Linked DNA regions of Homo sapiens: region 2 is linked to region 1. Evidence: promoter capture Hi-C in 16 types of primary human blood cells and fetal thymus (Javierre and others, 2016). All regions are on one chromosome and are shown on one strand. The core of a region is centred on a gene start or on the middle of the fragment in contact, and the rest is flanking DNA. Distances in the headings are between cores, read along the strand shown. Region 1 holds the start of H3C8 (H3 clustered histone 8). Region 2 holds the start of TRI-AAT5-2 (tRNA-Ile (anticodon AAT) 5-2).

Region 1 (6,870 bases), core at 546-3,045:
GCCAAGCAGCCCAGGATGGTATGTGTTCCTCCTTGTAACATCCCTAAAAACCTGATACTTCCAATCACTAAAAGGACCTCGGTGGTTCAAAAAAACAAAAAACAAAACAAAACAAAAAAGAAAAAACTTACATTAGTGTTGCCCTAAGAAATTCTTATAAAAGCCAGGTGTTGAAAGATAGTCAAGCAAGCCAGAAAGTCTTTAGAGACCAGTATATTCTCTCTGAAGGCAAACTACAAGGAAACTGATTCAATTAGAAAACTGCTAAGCCTAGAGTCAAACCAGAGCTAATAAGAGTATTAAAATTTATGTAGCAAGGAGTCTCAGCCCCAGCTGTTAGAAGCACCTGAATTTTAATAATTACCATTCCCTGGGCCCACTCTAGATTGCTATTAGTCTCATTGAACCCCAGGTAAAGATTTTTCTAAAGCCTTCCCATGTGACTGTAATGTTACATTGAGAAAACTGATCTGTAAAGAAATCAAACTATTTTAGGGGATTGTTCTGTGCACTTGCTTTAGAGAACATTTCATAGAATATTTCATTCTGTAACATAAATAAACATGCATTTTGCAAAAGCTCACTCCTTGTAAGAGTTCACAGGCAGGATGCCTTTACTGATGAGACCAAAACCAACAACCTAGGCTTCCTAAATCAGTGTTCATGAGAATCATCTGAGGTATATGCAGATTGACTCCAGCCCTAGATGGGGATTGAAACAAGCTCCCATGTAATGCCCTGGGAGCTTCTAACAAGTTCCCACGTAATGCCCATGCTGCCAGTAATGTAGAGGCCAATCTGGCTTTCGTTTCTGCCGCCAATTTCTAATATTGAATTAAAAAATGGATCATTTCACAGAAAAACCAAGAACTGTTTAAAAAAAGGGGGAATTGTGGAAATAGCTGCTTCAGACACGAAAAAGCAGCAACCAAGGATATCCCTACCTACTCTCAACTGCCAATGCTCATACCTGTAAAGTTTTAAAAGGGATTAACCAGAAATACACAACGAAAAAAAATCCCATCTATAATGGGTGTAAGTAGACAACGCGACTAACGCTTGAGACAATGTATATAAACGCCCCCAGGTGGCCCCTTCCACTACCAAATCGAAGCTCCAAACCCCTAAAAGCCAGTTTAGAAAAGGACGCTGACAATCTGGCACTTTCGGGAAAAAGCACGGGAACAAATATAGCAAGCTTACCATTAACTTTAGCCAATCAAATGAGGACTTAAGTACTAAAACCAATGTTTAGTTTCAAAGATTTGATTAGTTAATCACAGCTATTTTCGGGTGAAAGTAGGCGGCTCTTAAAAGAGCCTTTTTAAGTTGGATAGAATTACTGCCCGGAAACCTCTACGCTCTCTCCCCACGAATGCGGCGAGCGAGCTGAATGTCCTTGGGCATGATAGTCACTCGCTTAGCATGGATGGCACACAGGTTGGTATCCTCAAAGAGCCCCACCAAGTAGGCCTCGCAGGCCTCCTGCAGGGCCATCACCGCGGAACTCTGAAAGCGCAGATCTGTCTTGAAGTCCTGAGCGATTTCTCGCACCAGGCGTTGGAAAGGCAACTTGCGGATCAGCAGCTCAGTCGACTTCTGATAGCGGCGAATCTCGCGCAGAGCCACGGTGCCGGGACGGTAGCGATGAGGTTTCTTCACGCCGCCGGTGGCCGGCGCGCTTTTCCGAGCCGCCTTAGTGGCCAGCTGCTTGCGCGGCGCTTTGCCACCGGTGGACTTGCGTGCAGTCTGCTTGGTGCGGGCCATCTCAGACTACCTGAAAGAAAAACTCAGCCACTTGGCAGAGTGGAAACTGCCCTTATATATACTCAGAAACATTCTAATTGGCCTTGTTGATTTTCAAAAGACCCGCGCAACAAAACCATTGGCTGAAGAGTCCAACGATGTGATTGGTGAATTACTGGAAAATCTGATTGGATGAATCACTTCATTTTTGAATCCTCTCTTCTCGGTTAGTCTGCGATCCAAGAACGTTAACTTCTTAAAGTTCTAATTCTGCGCTTCTCAAGCTGTAGTCCGTAAACGACTACTTTAAGACTTGGAAGACGCTAATTCTCATTCAGTAGATGTGTTGTGGGGCCAGATTCGGAGGACCACGTTTTGAGAAGTTTATCTTGTGCCGTTTTCTTGAGTCACCTGGACTGCTGCTAGCTGGAAACCTTTGACCATTATAAGGCAGGATTCCTGGGTGATGTACCTGGGAAATCACGAGCCAAGAAGTCACCGACATACAACAGTGAGCAACAAATGTTAACTGAATTCTATTTTGTCCCAAATGGTGTTTTGCTTCGGTTGAGAATTTTTAAGGCACAGGCTAATTTTAGGTTTTCCAACGACTCTTATCATTTACTTTTCGTTGGGTCCTATTGATGATATTCCAGGATACCACCCCCACTAGCCTCTTCTGCAGGATAACTTGAACACTGCAGTGGCCCTGTCCATCTAAACTTTACAAGGTTTTGTAAACGTTACTGAACTTGCTTCTTCCCGACTACATTAAAGCACTTACTTGAGATATTAAACATTTTCTCATTAGTCCTGTTTGCCTAGTCAGTCACTTGTATAGACAGGGCAACAGCACGGCCTGAATATTGGGCAGGACACCGCCCTGCGCGATAGTAACTTTGCCCAACAGCTTGTTGAGCTTCTCGTCGTGGATGGCGAGCTGCAGGCGTCGGGGGGTGACGCGGGTCTTCTTGTCTCGGGCCGCGTTGCCCGCCAACTCCAGGATCTTGGCGGTCAGGTACTCCAGCACCGCCTCCAGGTACACCGGCGCACCGGCCCGGACCCGCTTGGCGTAGTTGCCCTTGCGGAGGAGGCGGTGCACTCGGCCCACAGAAAACTGGAGACCAGCCCTGGAAGAGTGCGTTTTAGCCTTGGCGCGAGCTTTGCTGCCCTGCATTCCACATCCAGACGCAGTGAAGTATTTAAATACTTGTTTAGAAGAAGGAAAGTGATTGATTCTAGTAAAACGCAAGAGCTAAACTCTTATAATCTATATTCGGCAAAGTAGACTGTGCTATCTCCTGAACACAGATTTCAGCCAATCGAAAAGCAGGTGTTTAAAAAAATTTAAAAAAAAAAAAAAAAAAAAAACCACTTCTGACTTACATACTTATAGTTGAAAGGTCAAATTATGCAAGGTTGAGCTTCTGGGAGAGCCGATGAGATTTAGGAGTTCAGAAATGGCCTATCATATATTCAGACACTAAAAGAACCAATGAGAAACCGAAACTCAGCCAGCCTCATTTGCATATACACGAGGTAAATAATGAGGGCGTTTGGGCTCACCAGCATTTTCCTGTGGTCATTTGACGGTATCACTTCGGCTGCGAACATGCCTGAACCAGCTAAGTCAGCTCCCGCCCCGAAGAAGGGCTCCAAGAAGGCGGTGACCAAGGCACAGAAGAAGGATGGCAAGAAGCGCAAGCGCAGCCGCAAGGAGAGCTATTCCGTGTACGTGTACAAGGTGCTGAAGCAGGTCCACCCCGACACCGGCATCTCGTCCAAGGCTATGGGGATTATGAACTCCTTCGTCAACGACATTTTCGAGCGCATTGCAGGCGAGGCTTCCCGCCTGGCGCATTATAACAAGCGCTCGACCATCACTTCCAGGGAGATCCAAACGGCTGTGCGCCTGCTGCTACCCGGGGAGCTGGCCAAACACGCGGTGTCGGAGGGCACCAAGGCGGTCACCAAGTACACCAGCTCCAAGTAAACTAGTTACCTGGGTAAAAGCGCTAACGACCCAAAGGCTCTTCTAAGAGCCACCCATGTTGTCATTTAAAGATCTGTAATTTTCCAGACTTGGCATTGGCAAGGTAAAATGGCTAAGCAACACATGGGATAGTAAGGGTTTACTGAAACATCCAAGTTCGGCCGGGCGCAGTGGCTCACGCCTGTAATCCCAGCACTTTGGGAGGCCGAGGCGGTCGCGTCACCTGAGGTCAGGAGTTCGAGACCAGCCTCGCCAACATGGTGAAACCCTGTCTCTACTAAAATATACAAAAATTAGCCGGGAGTGGTGGCAGGCAACTTAATCCCAGCTACTTGGGAGGCAGAGGTAGGAGAATCGTTTGAACCCAGGAGGCGGAGGTTGCAGTGAGCCCAGATAGAGCCATTGCACTCAAACCTGGGGTATAAGAGCGAGACATCTCAAAAAAAAATCCAGGTTCGTTGTTTTTTCCCCTATAGATTGTAAGCGTCACCAAGGAGTAAGCTCGTATGCAGCTTAATATGACACATTTCACTCAGCAGCTAAGGAAAAATCGTGTTCTAGATTGATCCCCACTTTTCTTCTCCCCGCACACCACCATCTTAAAATTTTGTTTTCGTTTTTAGTTTCACTTTATCATCCTATTGCCCTTGATTTGGAGTAGCCGGGTGGAAATCAAGTTTGGGGTAGTCTTAAATCTAAAATAAGGTCTGAGAAAGCGAAACTCGTCTTTTAGTTCGTTGTTAGCTTGCAAATGGTTGGAGCGGCATATGATGGAGGAAATCACCTCTGTTGGTTGCATTTCTAAACCATGGCAGATCGCTACCAGACGTTCTCATATCCCCCTTGCAAGTCCACTGATTTCTCTACAAATTTTACTGAGTTTATAATTACTGGATTACTTCACGTAGCTATACATATTACCTCTTGGCAAGATCAGGAACTCTACCATCTTCTTAGCTGAACATATTGAGGTTTAAGACAAAGAACAGGCAACAGGATAGCCTGAAGTTGGAGCAAAGAAATGAAAATTCCCGGTGCTACATTCAGACGCTTTTATCTGTAAGCCTTTTTAAGGCTCCAAGGACTGTGTTCTCCCTAAACCTCCTCCTCCGTGTCCTGGAACGACTTTGTCCACAGCTACTCCCTTTCTTGAAAATTCATTTTAAGAGAGGAGGGTTACAAGGAATTAACATTTGTGTGGTAGTCCTTAGAATGCATTATTTCATTCATTGATTTTTTTTTTCCTACAGTCAGCTGTGAAATGGAAGCTCCTCTTTTACAGGTGAATGACCTCAAGAATTAAGGTTAAGTAACTAGCCCCTTACACATAAATAAAACTGAGATTTGAATCTACTCTGATTCTAAGGATTACTTCCCACTGTTTGTTAGAGACCATCCCAAGCAGGAGCCTAGTTGCTGTCAGAGGAGTCAGGAAATTTAGGCTCAATTGTAATAAAAGAAAACTGGTCAGGAGATACACATATTCTTTGTTGCACAGCAAAGTCCTTACACCAGCAAAAGTTTCTTTTAAAAATAAAATAATATTAATGGTGACCTTTGGGCCCTAAAGATCACCTGGCAGCAAGTTTAACTTTTCTGAGCACTGTATTGTGGTGGGGAAAACATGGGCATTGTCAGTGTAAATGTGAGCTCTAAGATCTTATTTTCTATCTATTACCTACATGTCATTATCTGCAAATACCCACATAGCAGCTTACTGTGAACATTAAGTGACCAAAATTTGCTTTAAATTTTTTGTTTTGAGACAGGGTCTCACTTTGTCATCCAGACTGAGGTGTAGTGACACAACCACAGCTCACTGCATTCAACCTCCCTGGCTAGTGTTCCCACCTGTCTCCCAAGGAGCTGGCACTACAGGCACGCACCATCACACCCACTGAATTTTTTTTTTTTTTTAATGATTTTTGTAGAGCCAGGGTCCCACTGTGTTGCCCAGGCTAGTCTCAAAGTAAATTTGTAATGGAATTTGTGAAGAAAATTCTCTAAGCCCCAAATATAACTAAGGCATTCATTTCTTGCTCCCCAAAGCTAATTTTGAATACATTTTAAATTATATATTCATGAAATATTCAAGCATGGATTAAGGGGGACATCACTCAGGAAGTGATACAGTCCTGACTGATTGTTTCAATCCTAAGTTTGGGCAATTTATCTAATTCTTTTGTAAGCGCTTCCTTACCTGTTTATTCCAAACAGGAATAATAATTAGTAACTACTGCATGACATTGCTGGAGTGACGAATCAAAGAACACAGCTAAAGCACTTAGGACCGTGTCTGCACAGAGAATGACCCCCTAAATATTAGCTGTGGCTAAGCCTCTGGTTGAAGTGATAGGGAAGGTGCCTTTGGTCCTGCCCACATTTAAAGCCCAGAGTCCTAAGGCCTGGAATAATTAGCATTTGATGTGAAATGGGCTTCTTTGTCTGGCAGTGTAAATAATACTCTTTGAACAGTTCAATCCCATCTTTAAAGCCATTGTTTTCCTCTGAAGCATTTTGAAGACATCCTACTGCCTGTGGCTGTTTGATTTCCCTATCGTTGCTTGCCAGTTCAAGCAACGTGTCTCATATTTTCCAGGGACTGTCTCATGCCCTCACTGGAACTAGGAGTGCCCCATTTAATGGTCAGATGTGTTGAGTTGTAAGGAAACCTAGAAATTCACATGAGAAGTGCTTAGTACTTTTTTACTCTTTTTTCTTCCCAAGTTTCCTATTAACTTTGCTAACCTTGCTACATTTATTTTCCATCCATTTGTTGACTAGGTTTCCCTCATATACCTCCAAATCACAGCCCTGTTTTCAGATGAACTTCTGCACCTTGATAAGTATGTTCTTTAATTGGAACATAGGAAATTGGCTGGCTAACGAGGGCCACACTTTCCTGAATCCATTGTATCCCTGAGACATAGGTCACTTCAAAGGAAACTGATTGGTGTAAATTCCTGGCCTGAAAAGCTGAAGAACACCACCTCACCACTAGAGAAGTAACATCATTTTTAGGCTCTGATTTGAGTAGCTGCTACTATTGTATTTGTCACTCCTGCAGTAAATAATTTCTGAAAAGAACCAAGAAGTTACTATCTCCCATCTACCCTCAGCAGTGTGTATCT
Region 2 (6,861 bases), core at 685-3,184, 910 kb after region 1:
TGTCATCAAACTAATACCAAAACGTCAGCAGGCCCGGCCATGTTCCTCATGGAGGCTCTAGGGGAGAATTCGTTTTCAAACTCACTCAGGTTGTCAGTAGCATTCAGTTCCCTGCAGCTGTAGGACTGAGATAACGGTTTACAGGTTGTTCACAGTTTCTAGCAGATGCCTGAGTTCTCTGGCTGGTGGCTCCCTTCGTTTTCAAAGTCAGCAACTACCTGTGGAATCCTTCTTATACTTAAATCTGTATATATCATCTAATATACAATGGACTAAGTAGTAGGTACTCTTCATTAATTTATTCTAAAGAAATCTTTTTCAGTCGCTGACTTTGAGCTACTTACTGTTTTTGACGTGAAAAATCACAGCACTGAGCAAAACAGAGGGAGCCCCTTCCCTTTGTGATTCGCCCACTATGTCCTTGGCGCTGTTTTTGAGCCATTATTTACCTCATTATTTATCAATATTGTTAATGTCATTTTCATAGCAACCCATGTTTTAAAATAAGAGAAGGGTAAAAATATGTTGGGAGGATGAAGAGTGAAGGAAGAAATGTAAATGAGACACGTGCCAGGCACACGGGGACCCAGTGACCAGACTCCAAGAAAGCGCAGGACAGGGCTGGGCGCGGTGGCTCACGCCTGTAATCCCAGCACTTTGGGAGGCCGAGGCGGGCGGATCACGAGGTCAGGAGATCGAGACCATCCCGGCTAAAACGGTGAAACCCCGTCTCTACTAAAAATACAAAAAATTAGCCGGGCGTAGTGGCGGGCGCCTGTAGTCCCAGCTACTTGGGAGGCTGAGGCAGGAGAATGGCGTGAACCCGGGAGGCGGAGCTTGCAGTGAGCCGAGATTGCGCCACTGCACTCCAGCCTGGGCGACAGAGCGAGACTCCGTCTCAAAAAAAAAAAAAAAAAAGAAAAAGAAAAAAAGAAAAAAAAAAAGAAAGCGCAGGACAGAAAGAGCGAGGTGCTAAGACTTAGAGTGGACCCAGAGGCTCTGGCCCTCCTGTCTCCCACCACGCACTCCATTTTTGTCACATTTCAAACCTATCGCTTTTACGATATATGTTCAAAAATTGTTTAATGAACTGTAAATGGCTTGGTAAGGGCCGCATCGTAAATGGCTTGGTATGGGCCACATCGAGAACAGCTGTCAAATATAAGCCTAAGGCTAACCACGGATCTATTTTAACACTGAGCAGTTGTGGCTGAGTGTCTGGAGCTTGGCAGAAAGCAACGTCACAAGTCTGGCTTTTTCCCACGTAGACTGAACCCTCGCCCTCAAAGCTACAAACACAACAATTTAACCAACTGAGTGATCAACTAGGAGAAGAATCAATATGATCTCTTTCAAAAGCTTAAAATATGTCAAAATAGTATTATCTCAGAAAGTTTTTTTTTCCCAAAATAATACAAGACATTATCGAATTCTTATTTAACCCTTTTCTAAAATCACCCACCCACCTCATTGAATTTCCTTTAAAAAATCTTCATCCTGGCCGGGCGCGATGGCTCATGCCTGTAATCTCAGCACTTTGGGAGGCCAAGGCAGGCGGATCACCTGAGGTCAGGAGTTCAAGACTAGCCTGGCCAACATGGTGAAACTCCGTCTCTACTGAAAATACAAAAATTACCCAGGCATCGTGGCACACGCCTGTAATCCCAGCTACTTGGGAGGCTGAGGCAGAAGAATTGCTTAAACCTGGGAGGCGGAGGTTGCAGCGAGCCAAGATCGCGCCGCTGCACTCCAGCCTGGGCGTCAGAGCAAGACTCTGTCTCAAAAACAAACAAAACAAACAAATAAGAAAAACCTTTTCATCCTAACTCGTATATTATTTCTTCAAAAGAATAAAAAACGTGCAAATCTAATGCTTGTCTAGCTATTGCGACCACATTTACAAATGGATAGGCAGCGCTCCGGAGTTGGATGTAAGACGGTAGTATACAATCCAGGTGTGGTCGATTTAAGAAAAAAAAAAAAGAAAAAAGAAAAAAATTCCTGTCTAGCTAGTGCAACTACATTTATAAATGGATAGGCGAGGCTACGGAGTTCGATGTAAAACCGAAGTTTACAAGCGAGGTGTGGTCGGTGTAAAATAAAAACGAAAAAGAAGAAAAAAAAAAAAAACAAACCCACGGAAGTGGCCCGTACGGGGATCGAACCCGCGACCTTGGCGTTATTAGCACCACGCTCTAACCAACTGAGCTAACCGGCCTCCTTGGTGGGAGGGTCTTTTCTTATGTTTATTTAAATCATACCTGATCCATGCCCGCTGAATTTTTTTTTTTTTGTAATAGAAGCGTTACTTTCCCTTTTATTAATAAAATATATTTTTTTTTAAGAAAAGGAGAATTCCTCACTGTAGGCACAGGAAAACCATGCTGTTTCAGGGAAAACAATCTCAAACCACTGATTCTGACTGGAGAAAACTCAGATTCAACGACCCCAAGCAGGGCTTCCTTCCCCTCACCAGGTGAAGGACTCAGAACAAACCAAAAAGCAGCTCCAAGCTTGCGATCGCGGCCAGTTCCTCACGGAACCAACCGCAGAGCCGCCGCAGGTTCGCAGGATCGGAGGGTTCGGAGGACTCGGAGGGTGCGGATTCCTCTCTGCTCCTTGAGACCATTCCAGCCAGGTGGGCTCTTAGGCCTGGGAACCTGGGAAAGTGCACTGTCTCGCCTCCTGGCCTCGCGGTGGTTCCGCAGTCACCAGGACCCGAAATTCACAGCTGTGCGTCCTAAGCTTGCAGCTCCACAAACGATAAAATCAGACTTGGCCCTGCAGTGCCGGGCACCGGGCCCTTGGTGATGCTCGAGTGCCGGGCTGGCATCGGCGTAAATGAAAGGACCAGCGGGACGGCTCCTTTCAAGAGTCTCTGACTCCTTCCGTCCCGGGAAGACCAAGACACCCACATCTAAGACAAGGGAAGTCACCATTATCTACACCAATGATAAACGCCGGTATCTGGGAGGAACTGAGCCCAGGACCGGGTCAGGCAACTCAGAGTGTTGGGACAACTAAGTCCCTCTTCAAAGACTCAACTTTCTTGTCATAAGTTGCAAAAGTTGTACGTCAATCCTGCCTGCCCCCCGCCCCCCACCACACACATACACTCCTTTTTTTCGCAAATCCAGGGTTTACCCTATTTGCCAAAGTTTAAGTCTTAGCCAATCGGGATCAGCTTAGATTGTGCGGTCCAACCCCAGCCAATAGGGGAAGGACACAGAAACAGGAACTGCGTTAGGATTAAAAACTCCTTACCTCCTTTGTTTGGTGTGCTCTTGCAATTGTAACAGGCAAGGAGCACCCTTCTGCAGAAGTAAAGATGCCTTGCTGAGGAATTTTCTAAGTGAGGGTTTCTTTTGGCTACACCAAGCACTTGTTTCCAGTAAATCTTAGGGACTCGTCCGGGATCCCATTCTCCTTCGGGAGGGGCTAGCGATTATCTTTCATGGGGAGACGCGTCCCATTGCCTCGTGGTGGCCCCAGGAGCGGAGGATCGAGTCCCGCCCGAAGTGACGAATAAATCCGGACTCTCAGCAACGCGGACAGTAGGGAGGATCCTTAAGAATTCTGTGAGACCAGCTTGGTCAATACGGTGAAACTCCGTTTCTACTAAAAATACAAAAATTAACCGGGCGTGGTGGTGCGCGCCCTTAGTCCCAGCTACTTGGGAGGCTGAGGCAGGAAAATCACTTGAACCCGGGAGGCAGAAGTTGCAGTAAGCCGAGATCATGCCACTGCACTCCAGCCTAGGCAACAGAGCGAGACTCCGTCTCAAAAAAAAAAAAAAAAAGAATTCCATGGCGACCACAGGTAACTCTGTGCACAGACCAAGGTAAGAAACGTTGCTATTGGGGCGGCAAAGCCTTCCTTGGTGGTTGGGGTCTCTGGAGTTTTAAAGTGTGTGAGTGAGACATACCACTGGGCGCAAGGCGAGTGCGGAGTCCGGACTTGGTTCCGTGGTCACCTCATACGGCTTAGGGCGGTTTTCCAATCAGGGGATTCCACCTACCCGCCAATGCTAAGAGGTGCCTAAAATTCCCGCAAGGGAAGCAGCCAATAAGGACGAAGTGAGTGCTCACGAGAGTGCAAGAAACCTCCAGTGGAAAAAGGGGAGGTTGAGCCTCTAAGACACGGGAGTGCAAGAGATCTCTAATATTATATATTAAGCCTCACCAACCTCCAGGATGGGAAATAACCCCAAGTAAGACAGAGACTCTAAAAGGCCAAGCAGACAATAAAATTTCCCTCACAGTCCCCTAGGCCTAATGTTAAAATACTGGAAGGATAATGAAAGGACCAAACACAAGAAAAGACAGCAAATGATAAAGTACTGCTGTTTTATTTGGACTAAGGAACCCATCCTCAGACCTTCGGTCTTTTGGCCAAAGTTTGGGTGGGACGAGGACTGGATATGCCAACTCCTGATCCAGTATGTCAATGATAAAAGCCCAGTTTCTCAAGAGGAGATAGATTATGCTCTATGTTGGAGACAAGGACCTGTCCTTCTCTATCCCTTAAAGGACGAAAAAGCAAAGCCAAACTCAAAACCCCCCAAAGACGACCTAGCTAAGTCATATTCTATATCCAAAGATGCACGGGATCCTCTAGACCACCTTCCCCTGCCTACCTCTCCGCCCCGACTGAACAACAGCCCTTCCCGCACCTACCCCTCTGCCCCAAGCTAAAACTCCGTCCCTCCCCCATATAACCCTGCCCCATGGGCCTTGACACCACACACCCCCGTTGGACAGCCACTCGAACATGCCCCTCCCTTAGGAAAGCTCCAGTGGCAAATAGAACAATGCCAAAGGGATATTCAAAACTTTCCTTTCCTCTCTTCAAAGAAGTCTGCCCCAACCTTTTTTCCCTTGAGGGAAGTACCACTAGGAGGAGGGGATATTGGCTTCGTAAATGCCCCCCTTAGCTAGTGAAGAAGTTAGAAATCTAAAAAGGAGACTCAAACCACTGTTAGATGACCCTTTTGGAGTCTCAGATCAAATTGACCAATTTATGGGGCCACAACTGTATACCTGGGCTGAATTGATGTCTATTCTAGGTATTCTCTTCTTAGGAGAGGAAAGAACCATGATCTGCAAGGCTGCTATGATAGCCTGGGAGCGCAAGCACCCCCCTCGTCAGAATGTCCTTGCAGCAGAGCATAAATTCCCGGCCCAGGACCCTCAATGGGATAACAACAGTGCGGCTCACCGGGAAAACATGAGAGATAGGGATATGATAATTAAAGGGATTCAGGAATCAGTTCCTCCAACCCAAAACATTTCCCAAGCATTTAATGTACAGCAAGAGAAAGATGAAGGGCCCATGGAATTCTTAAACAGACTTAAGGAACAGATAAGAAAATACGCAGGTTTGGACATAGAGGACCCACTAGGACAAAGGATGTTAAAGCTCCACTTTGTCACCAATAGTTGGCCAGACACTATAAAGAAATTATAAAAGATAGAAAATTAGAAAGACTGTCCCATAGAGGAACTTTAAAGAGAGGTCCAAAAGGTATATGTACGGAGGGATGAGGAAAGGCAGAAGCAAAAGGCAAAAATTATGCTGTCCACCCTACAACAGGGAACTTTTCAACAGGCATCCCAGGGAAATAGAACTTGTAAACCTTCTGAGTACCAGGCTGCCAGACCCTATACAGGAAGCAAAGGGACGAAACCTGAGAATCAGGGAACCAGGAGGGGGAGAAGGAAAAACAGATGTTTCAGATGTGGAAAGCCAGGACATTTTAAGAGGAAATGTCCCGAATGGGAGAGGGAAAAGAAAGTCCTTTCACTCATGACATTTGAAGAACAGTGGGCTCAGGGGCTCTACGTCTTCCATCTTGAGTCCCACCAAGAGCCCTTGATAAATTTAACGGTGGGACCCAAATTGGAAATAGTCACTTTCCTGGTCAATTCGGGAGCAGCTGGCTCCTGCCTATGTTTTCTCCCATCAGATTTATCCTGTTCAGCCGAAGACCTTACTGTCTCAGGAGTTAAAGGGGAAGGATTCAGAGCAAAAATTCTAGAGGAAACCGAAGTCAAATATAAGAATAAGTCGGTTGCTACTAAGTTCTTCTTAATTCCTGAAGCAGGAACTAATTTATTAGGAAGGGACTTAATGTTAAGGTTAGGCACAGGCCTATATGTTAATCAAGGAAAACTCCTTACTTCCTTAAACGTACTCACCACTTCAGAAGAAAGCCGCATCCATCCCAACGTATGGTCGAAAGAAGGGAATCGAGGATGGGTTCCTCCAATCCATGTCAAATTAAAAACTCCTGGGGAAATAGTGAAACAAAAACAATACCCTATTCCCTTGGAAGCCAGGATAGGTTTATAACCTATAATTGAAAGCCTTGTCCACGAAAACAATACCCTATTCCCTTGGAAGCCAGGATAGGTTTAAAACCAGGATAGTTTTAAAACCTGTAATTGAAAGACTTGAACCCTGTATGTCCCCTTATAACACTCCAATATTGCCTGTAAGGAAGTCAGACGGGTCATACCAGCTAGTGCAAGACCTCTGGGCTATTTACCAAATAGTTCAGACCATCCACCCTGTTGTTCCCAATCCTTACACCATTTTCAGTAGAATCCCGCATAACCACCAATGGTTCACGGTGACAGATTTAAATGATGCCTTTTGGGCTTGCCCTTTAGCAGAGGACAGCTGGGACAAATTTGCCTTTGAGTGAGAGGACCCTCACTCCGGTCGATGGACAGTCTTGCCCCAAGGTTTACAGAGTCCCCAAATCTATTTGGTCATATTTTAGAGCAAGTCCTAGAAAACTTCTCCCTGCCTTCATCCATATGCCTACTCAAATACGTAGATGTCCTGCTCATTTCAGGA

The links. The method cuts DNA at HindIII sites, captures the fragments that hold promoters and counts their contacts. A CHiCAGO score of 5 or more calls a contact.
Region 2: a contact is called between a fragment that was not itself captured here and the fragment with the promoter of H3C8 in region 1, in 1 of 17 cell types (naive CD8 T cells). The highest score is 5.0, in naive CD8 T cells.

The regions. Positions count from the first base shown.
Region 1 is chr6:26,269,618-26,276,487 of GRCh38, forward strand. It overlaps H3C8 (H3 clustered histone 8), which reads right to left and starts at 1,796. Exons shown (of 1, transcript NM_003534.3): 1 at 1,301-1,796. The coding sequence starts at 1,767. The coding sequence ends at 1,357. H2BC10 (H2B clustered histone 10) reads left to right here and starts at 3,314. Exons shown (of 1, transcript NM_003525.3): 1 at 3,314-3,795. The coding sequence starts at 3,359. The coding sequence ends at 3,739. It also overlaps the pseudogene H2AC10P. RefSeq lists enhancers at 698-837, 2,565-2,904, 3,235-3,574, 3,645-3,774, 3,785-3,834 and 1 more. The HindIII fragment of the contact is 12,049 bases long and covers 1,197-6,870 here.
Region 2 is chr6:27,175,071-27,181,931 of GRCh38, forward strand. It overlaps TRI-AAT5-2 (tRNA-Ile (anticodon AAT) 5-2), which reads right to left and starts at 2,218; the gene lies at 2,145-2,218. RefSeq lists a cis regulatory region at 2,057-3,134, a silencer at 2,124-2,273 and enhancers at 2,476-2,675, 2,866-2,965, 3,316-3,375. The HindIII fragment of the contact is 1,154 bases long and covers 1,358-2,511 here.